Regions from separate parts of the Homo sapiens genome. Here region 2 is linked to region 1. Evidence: promoter capture Hi-C in 16 types of primary human blood cells and fetal thymus (Javierre and others, 2016). All regions are on one chromosome and are shown on one strand. Each heading gives the region's core, a stretch centred on a gene start or on the middle of the fragment in contact. The rest is flanking DNA. Distances are from core to core; before and after follow the strand shown.

Region 1 (4,688 bases), core at 2,173-4,672:
CTCAGGCCTGTAATCCCAGCACTTTGGGAGGCTGAGGTGGGTGGATCACTTGAGGTCAGGAGTTCAAGACTAGCCTGGCCAACATGACAAAACCCCGTCTCTACAAAAAATGCAAAAATAGCTGGACATGGTAGCACGTGCCTGTAATCCCAGCTACTTGGGAGGCTGAGGCACGAGATAGTGCCACTATAATCCAGTCTGGGCAACAGAGTGAGACTCTGTCTCAGAAAAACCAACCAACCAACCAAAAAAAAAACCAGGGAGGGAAGGCAGAACAGGAGATTTTTTTTTTTTTTTTAATGAAAATAGAAGTTTTCTTTCTGTCCTCCTTTCTCTCCTCCTTCCTTCTCCTTTCCGGATCTTTCCCCAAATAATTTTCTAATAATTCAGTTGTTTTCTGAATATTGCTTTTAAGTTTTTTGATTTTAAAGATACAATTAGAAATAATGTATATGATGAAAAAGCTGTTTCCCACTCCAATTCAGATCTGTGATCTACACTGGGAAAAATGACCACTCCTCATGAAGTTTTGTTACTGACCTCTCTTGGACTTTAGCTCTCCATCTCTGCTGAGGGGATATGAAGGTATTTGCATTTCTCCTGTTAATGAAGGGATCTTAGAACAGAAAATAAATAAATGCAGTTTTAGCGACACATAGCTGGAAATATTTCCGTGAATATTCCTTGACACAAATATATTTGAAAGTGCCTTAACTTATGCAACTCATATAAACGGAGATTGGCAAAAATTAAAGGAGAGTATAAAGTAGATTTCATTAACTTCCTGATCAAATGAAATCAGTAATCAATCCATGTGTCTTAGAGACTTGTCATATAGGCTTTGTTGGTTTTGAGTTTGGACGATCACTTTGCCTTTCTTAATTTCTGTATTTCTACTTGGTAGATTTTAAATTCCTTTTGAGGAGAAATTCTCTGTCCTGAGGATTTATGAAGCATAACTAGATTGCCGATACATGAACAGTTTAAACACTATAAAAATAATGAATAAATTAAAAATGAGAGTGATGTGCCATTTCCTCCTATGCTCAGTCTTTATAAATCCAGCTATTCAACAGCAATCAGCTGGCTGGGTGTGGTGGCTCATGCCTGTAATCCCGGCACTTTGGGAGGCTGTGGTGGGTGGATCACTTGAGGCCAGGAGTTCGAGACCAGCCTGGACAACATGGTGAAACCCCATCTCTACTAAAAATACAAAAATTAGCCAGGCATGATGTCATGGGCCTGTAATCCCAGCTACTCAGGAGGCTGAGGCATGAGAATTGCCTGAACCTGGGAGGTGGAGGTTGCGGCGAGCCGAGATCACACCACTGCACTCTAGCCTGGGCGACAGAGTGAGACACTGTCTCAAAAAAAAAAACAAGAAAGAAAAACACAAAAAAACCAAAACAGCACTCAGCTTAACGTGGCGCCTGTGGTCTCCCAGCTGACTTGGCGTCCAGCTCTGTGCTTTACCATTTGTCATTACTCCTCGTTTTCCATCTGTGCAGTTGACGTGGTGCCAATTTAAAATTTCCAAATGAGATTTTATGGCTTCTAAATATGTCGCCTGTAGCTTAAATCCCATATTGCACTACTTCAAACTTAAAAAATTGCTCCTTTGGCAATTTTTATAGTCATTAGATTTAAAAATTTACTTTAGTTTTCCAAAAGAGGCCCCCTTTTCCCTCCCTGTTATATATCTTTCCATCTTGTTTATTTAAAAATAAGAAGAGGTTCTTTAATGCAAGGGATTTGAATAAAGAAGTTAAATATTCACTTACTAAGTTCATAAGATTCCATGCTTTCATGTGATTCTGAAATTAAAAAAAAAAGATTCATTATATCAATATTTATCCATGATTCATTATGTTATTATTTATCAATTTAGACACTGTGATAGTTTAAATACAGGGATGGAAGAAGAGGAAAGAGTCTAAAAACATGAAGAATATATTTAGCAGTGTGGTTATTAGAAATTTCAGGAATTTAGGATTTATGAGGTTTTTCTCTAGCTCTGGCCTTGCTGTGGATATCTCTATATTTTAGTTTCTCTGATGTTGAAGGAGGGAGTGGCCATTTTCAGCTAAAATTTCCCAAGGGCTATGACGTCTTCAGACAAGCAAAATAAGACACTTTAAGTGCTGTACAGAAGTCTCCAGAGAACCTTCTTCTCTGATTTATTCAGAGCCTGTTTGAGAACAGGGTCAAAGAGGATTAAGAAGGATCCAGAAGACAGCCAGGTTTCTCCAGGCAAGAGAACTACAGGGCAGTTGCTCTGCTGGGCTTACTAGGGCAGGTTTCTAAGAGGGTTCCGAAAGCCTCTTAAGAACCTGTGTTAAATTGGCAGCCACAGAAACCACTAGCTCCAGCTGACAGCTCACCCTGGGCACGATGCCAGTTCAGAGAGAGAACTGAAACGATATCAAAGCCGAAGTTTTCTTCTTTCTGCCACTCTCCTGAGCACAGCAGATAAATTTTGGAATAAGAAGCTTCTATTAATATTTGCCAGCAAGTGAATTTTCTTCAAAACTTAAAAAGGAGGTGAAGAAATCAAATCCTCTAATACAGAAAATTTGTGAATACAAGAGTGAGAAGCATAATCTTTATGGTTGTTAATGTAATTTAAATTTTAAAACAATGAAAATATCTAGGTAATTGAAACAAAAGACTGAAATAAGTAAATAACTTTGCTTCAGATTTCCTTTTATAAGCTTTGAACAAATGCAGGTATATTTAATGACATATAGAAAACAGGCAAAATTTATTTTCTGACAACAGGAGTTATGAAAATGATTCTTTTCTAAAATTCTTTTGATGTAAAACTTTATTTTAAAATTAATTAACTGAACAAACATAGTAAGTTCATGAGATTGTCCAGTCCCTAGAAAGGGCTATACTTAATACTTCACATAAAAATGGATTTTCTCAAAGGCAAGTGGTTTAAACAATACCCTTAACCCATTGATACCAAAGTCTAAATAAATATCCTTAAAAATGAGGATGCAGGGGGCTGGGAATTTGGTATCTTCTTTCTGAAATATGAGTTTCTAGATATACAGAGACTTACCACTGAACGGGTTTGCCTGTTAAGTTGCATAAGACTCTGGATATTTAGGATATAAAAAAGACTTAATAGAACAGATCAGTTTCTGCGGAGACTGGGAAATGTGAAAGTAATGGTACTTTAAGATTATAACAGAGAAAGGGGGAAGAAGAGGAGGAGGGAGAGGAAAAATAGAAGTAAGCCAAAGTCAGAGGCAGAAAAGTAAACACAGAGAAATGGGAGAAAAGTTTCTCACCATAACACAAAGTTACTACCGCTAAGGCGGCCAGGATGGCAAGAAGGATCAGGCTCTTCATGGTTTCGTCCTGCAGGTCAGTCTCAGGGTCTTGTGTAGCAGCAGTAGGGAGAGAGGCTCCTACGGGATGTTAGTGGAAGGCTGTGAGGTTTTTATAAGAACCAGAGCAGTTGAGAGGGGAGGAACCAGTGGGAGAGAGCTGGAGAAGGTGGGGAAGGGTTGGCACTGAACTAGCATTGGAACTTTTCCCAAACAGTCATTCCTTCCAGATATTATCTACTCTGAGTGGGCAGTTTTCCCTAACTGCTGGACCTGACTGTGTTACACAGGATGCTGCTCTGGTGCAGAAGTTTTGGCCATCGTATGCTTGGGGACAGACCTGGGCAAAAGCCCACAGAGGAAGTTGCCACAAACACATGATCTACCCTCCTGGCCCTGACCGCAGGGCTTTTGGGTTTGGTCCACAGACAGAGCCCTAGTGTTCTGTTTGTTACCCTGATTGATTGATGAGAGGTTTTGGGGGAGAAAGGACTTCACTTTCTTTTCTTTTCTTCTTTTTAACCTTTGCCTCTTCTTCTAGGAGAACTTCGCTTTCTACACTGATTATAATTTAGACATCTTCCCAGTAGGGCTGAATCCTAGACCAATCTATCAATCCCAGACTAATCAGGCATTTGCCTGGGGATATGCATCTTTGGCATTTTTCCAAGGGTTCATCAGGATGGAGATATCCGGTGCACCATGAGTTCTGTTTCCTTAATCAACACCGTTGTAACTTGCCCATCCAGTTTTGTGACATTAATTCAAACCTGTGCCCTAGTCCTCTTTTAGGCAGCGTATCAGTGCTGGAAAGTGCAGCAAGGATAAGAGGGTACTGTTCTCTCATTTCTGAGGGCGTTGTCTCGATAATTAACTAACTTGATAGACTTTTTAGTGAGTGGCAGGTGAGATGCAAGGTACTGTGCTAGGTGCTGTGGGGGATGTACAGACAAACAACACACCTCCCTAAGGAGGTAAGTAATAGCTACTTACTATTCACTTTGCTCTTTCACTGTAATGTATCCTCAAGCACAGGTTTTCACTACACCATCAGGCCCAGAAGTACTAGCTTATTTTCCACAGGAGGATTTCAGTTTGATGCCTCTGGTTATCTTGTATAGAGAGGTCTTTTCTTTCTTTCTTTTTTTCCCCCTTCTTTTGCAATCACAAAATCTGTCCTACCAGATGTGCCTCTCTTGCTTGGGAACCCAATAGTTTTCTTTGCAGACAACAGACTTGAAGTCACAGAGCAGCAGATTGTAGAAGAGCTACAGCTTCGGGACCTCTGACTCTTGAGCTGGAACAGCAATAGGGCTGGGTTGGGGGTGGGGTGGATGTGTCTTTCAATAC
Region 2 (4,519 bases), core at 10-2,509, 92 kb after region 1:
AGGAAGGAATCACAGCATGAGCAGGTGGTCCAGGGTCCTGGCCAATCTCACCATCCCTGGTACTGGCAAGGGTAATAATTTAGTAATAATCAGAATTTAAATAAGAGAAAAATCTTGGAGGCGAGGATAATAATTGCAACCCAATTGTCAAGGAAATAAGAAAACAGTATGGACTGGAAGTTATAGAATATGAGGTTTCAGGAATATGCAGTGTGGCCAGTAAAGAGAGTCATTGTTAGCACGAGCCAAAGACTGTCAGGGAGGTTTGCAGTTAACAGTATTAGCATAGGCTGGTGTGATGGGTCATGCCTGTAAACCTAGCACTTCGGGAGGCTGAGGCGGGAGGGTCACTTGAGCCCAGGAGTTTGAGGCTGTAGTGAGCTATGATTGCAATTGCACCACTGCACTACAGCCTGGCTGATGGAGCAAGAACTTGTCTCTCTTAAAAAAAAAGAAAAAAGAATATTAGCATAAATCTGCAATGGGTGAAATAAGGAATCTTATGGAGACAAAGCCCCCACACACTAGTTTTTATAGAGGAGACTGTCTCAGGGTAAGAGGCAAAAGCAATTTGGAGTTCTCTGGGGCTTTTCAGGATCTTCCTTCCAAGAGCAAGTTTTGTTAACTCTTACGAAAGAAAGGAAGAAAGAAAATAACGTCATCCAAAATGACACATTAATTGCTTAAATTTATCTTTTTCAATAATTTTCTTTGATTTGTATTTGAAGAATGGCAATGTGCATTTCTGTAGCCAAATTAAAGTCTGAGAACACCATATTGGATAGGTCCGTGGTGTGGATAGAAGAAGGCATTGAAGATTTGTGAAAAGTGGGGGCTGAAGAACCTTATGTCTCGACGTAGAGTTGAAGCACAAACGTATTACTTAATTATCCTTCATTAACTTCTGTATGTGCGTGTGTATTAAGATGTGTTGAATATATTCATGGGTGTTGGTATTCCTGCTTCAGAGGTCCTCCTGTCCAGACAACTACACTGTCATCTCCCAGAACTAAGAGAGAAGTTTCTGGTTCATGTGAGGATTAAACAAAATAATCCTATCTTAAACTATAAGGACATGAAGGACTATAAAAAAACAGAGGCCATAAAAAATGCTCAATAAACATTTAGAGTCAGGTTATTTTACAGCTGGATGGAAGAATATGTAAAGCTTAAAGAAATTGCAGATGCTGTAAAAGACTATAGATATCACTGAGTCCATTTTCCTCTCTTCGTAACTGACAGAACTGGTAGTCACAGAGAAGTACAGCATCATAATAAATTCACGTAGAATGCTTGTGGCAAATCTATTTTATTTATTTATTTTTAAATTTTAATTTGTTATACCTAATGTGAAGCTTTAATTTAATTTATTTATTTAAAAATTGTTTTCAGTGGCAGATCCATGGGAACAGCATAGCTACCTAGATTTCTGAGTTTTAAAATCTATCAATTGTCCGTTTACACAACTGATAGATTGTGTAAGTAATGTAGCAGAAGGTAAGTTTCCATTCCATTCCATTAAGTGCCTGCATTGATTTATACTCTGTTTTCTTAAAGATCCCTTTTAAAGATGATAACTTCTCCCCTTTTGTGTCAACACAAAATACTGAGCTTTCTTGTTGAAGTACTTTTCTTCTCCAGCCTGAAATAAAGATCTAATAACCAATGGTCCCCATGACTTGAAAGATCTTCTTTTTTTTATCTTTCACTGTCTAAGGAGGCTGAAAGGGAAACATCAGCCGCCCGGGGGGAGTTAAAATGAGTGACAACACTACTCTGCCTGCTCCAGCTTCAAACCAGGGTCCTACCACCCCACGCAAAGGCCCTCCCAAGTTCAAGCAGAGGCAGACTCGCCAATTCAAGAGTAAACCTCCAAAGAAAGGTGTGAAAGGGTAAGACCAAAATGAAAAGAAAAACTTTCTATTACTTTCTTTTTCCCACAAGACTGCTTTTGTTTTGGGAAATTGGTGCTCACAATATTAAACAGACTTACAAAAATTTCCACTCCATCCTCTCTTTTCCTCTGTAACTCCATCTTTGATGAATTGTGTCTTTATCCCTGGAATTCTTTCCTTCTCAACTTCCAGGTCTGTGGCCGAATTTAACATGGCAAATAGAGGCTTTTTACAATAAACTTTGACTTTGCCTTGCAGGCTTTTGATGACCACTCCTCTTTACTGAGACAACCTCTACGTTAATCTGTAACACTGAACCACTGACCATTTCCAGAAAATATAGCTTATATTTATGTCTTCCAATTTTGTATCCTCAGTTCTTTATTTTCCTCTTCCTCTCCTTGGCAAAATCCTATTGATTTTTCAACACACAGATCATATGCTAATTTCTTTTTGAAGCTACTCCTGACTCTCTTTAACAAACTATCATTACTTTCATGTTTGCATTTTGTACATTCAGCTATCATAACTTACATTATATCTTATATTTATTTATTTGTATCTATTCTCCGAGGCTAAGACCACTCAGAAAATTTGTCTGTTTTCTTCTTAACTCTCTGTGCTTAATAAAATGCCTGGTATATAATAGATGCTTAGTTAATGATTTTGAATAAGTAAACAAATGGATGAATTCATCATTTTTAATGCCTTTTGTATTGCTTTCTCATTTCAATTTTTATTATAAAAAGTGAAACTTGACTAAGTTGTCCCACTGATGGTTCTTTCTGACTCTTAATTGTTTTAGGTTAAGTTCCTACAGGAGAGAAATATCTCTCCAGTGGGATACACCAAAACCTGCCTGAGTGACATTTTCTTTGCTCCAGTTCAGGGCAAACTAAAGGAGTTTCTCACATACAAACACTTAAACCTCTCCTTCTTCCCCCTTGAATCAAGAAACTCTCCATGTGAGTGACTCCAAAATTCTTTTGCTCTAATCTCAGCTAATTTCTCCTTTATTCTTTTCCATAGATTTGGAGATGACATTCCAGGAATGGAGGGGCTAGGAACAGGTAAGCCATCCACTGATTTAAGTGAGAACTTCGCACTTGGAGTTCTGCCTTTTTATATACTTCAGGCCTCAAGGGGCAGTTGAAAGTTATGAGAAATACCCAAGGCAGAAGATCTGTGAAGACATAGAAATGTGGGGATTTAATTTACCCTCGAAATAAGTACATGTGTGCCCAGATACAAAAGCCCTAAAAGAAATCAGGGTAGGCCCAAAATTTCATAAACCTTCTTGTTTTGTCAAACAACCTTTGAGGGCATACAATGATAAATTATAGACTTTTATGGTAGAAAGATTTTCATAATTCATCTCCCCAAACTTCATTTTTCAAGGGAGAAATCTGAGACATACAGGAATTGGCAGTCTTTTGTCTGAGGCTACCAAGTGAACTATTGGAAATAAGGGTGAGGTCTGGAGATCTCTCCACTCTACCTGGCAAACCACTTCCTTACCAATTTCCTCTTTTTACACATCCTCTAGCACCCAGAGGAGGATCTTACATACTGAATGCCTGCAATATAATTTTAAAAATTGGTTACCAGATTTTTATGTATCATACAATGAATGCAATCACTGCATATTTTTTAAATTAATAGACTTTATTTCTTAGAGGAGTTTAAGACTTACAGAAAAGTTCAGCAGAAAGTAGAGTTCCTATATGTCCTCTCTACCATCTCTCTCCCCTTTTACACAGTTTCCTCTATTATTAACATCTTGTATTAGTGTGATTATATTTGATGAGCCAATGTCGATGCAGTATGTTAATTAAACTCCATAGCTTGAATTAGAGTTTTTATCCCTTGTGTTGTAAAGTTCTAAGGGTTTTGATAAATACCATGTACCCACCATTATAGTACATATTGCAGTACATATAGTATCATACAGAATAGTTTCGCTGCCCTATGCTCCACCCGGTCATCCTTCTCTCTCTCTCTAAACCCCAGACATCCACTAATGTTCTTACTGTCTCTATAGTTTTGCCTTTTCCAGAATGTCATATAGTTAGACTCATACAGTATACAGCTTTTCTGGACTAGCTTCTTTCATTTAACCATATTCATTTAAGGTTTCTCCATGTTTTTATGTGGCTTGATAGCTCATTTTTTAAAATCACGGAATGATACTCCATTGTAGGGATATACACAGTTTTTTATCCTATTGAAAGATACCTTGGTTTCTTCCAAGTTTTGCCAATAATGAATAAAATGCCCCTAAATATTTATGTGCAGGCTTTTGTGTGGACATATTTTCAACTCATCCAACACACCTTTGATAAACAGTAGCACTTGTAGTAATCAGTGTCCTTCCCAGGCAATCCTCAGTGTCTCTTTCTGCAGGCAAATACCAATCCTGGGATCTTGAATGAATTTTCCAGCCATGTTATAAAGCAAATTTTCTATTCTTTTAGATCAACTGCTTCCGTATTTTGGCAAGGTGCATACAAGACCAGCAAATTTGCTTTGGGATCTGGAAGATATGCTTGACTCTGACAGTGTATTTGGAATAATGTAAAGAGGTTTATAGGGAGTGAAGGTCTGAGGTCTTTGACCTGGCTCTA

What was found. Contacts are between HindIII fragments. The CHiCAGO score rates a contact against its expected background, and 5 or more counts as called.
Region 2: a fragment that was not itself captured here is called in contact with the fragment with the promoter of MGP in region 1 in 1 of 17 cell types (total CD8 T cells); the score reaches 7.9 in total CD8 T cells.

The regions. Positions count from the first base shown.
Region 1 is chr12:14,882,432-14,887,119 of GRCh38, forward strand. It overlaps MGP (matrix Gla protein), which reads right to left and starts at 3,423. Exons shown (of 4, transcript NM_000900.5): 1 at 3,300-3,423; 2 at 1,782-1,814; 3 at 541-616. The coding sequence starts at 3,360. The HindIII fragment of the contact is 4,253 bases long and covers 2,710-4,688 here.
Region 2 is chr12:14,976,255-14,980,773 of GRCh38, forward strand. It overlaps PDE6H (phosphodiesterase 6H), which reads left to right. Exons shown (of 4, transcript NM_006205.3): 2 at 1,718-1,892; 3 at 2,925-2,965. The coding sequence starts at 1,759. Among named protein-coding and RNA genes, the nearest start is that of PDE6H, 5.5 kb to the left of the region's middle. The HindIII fragment of the contact is 187 bases long and covers 1,167-1,353 here.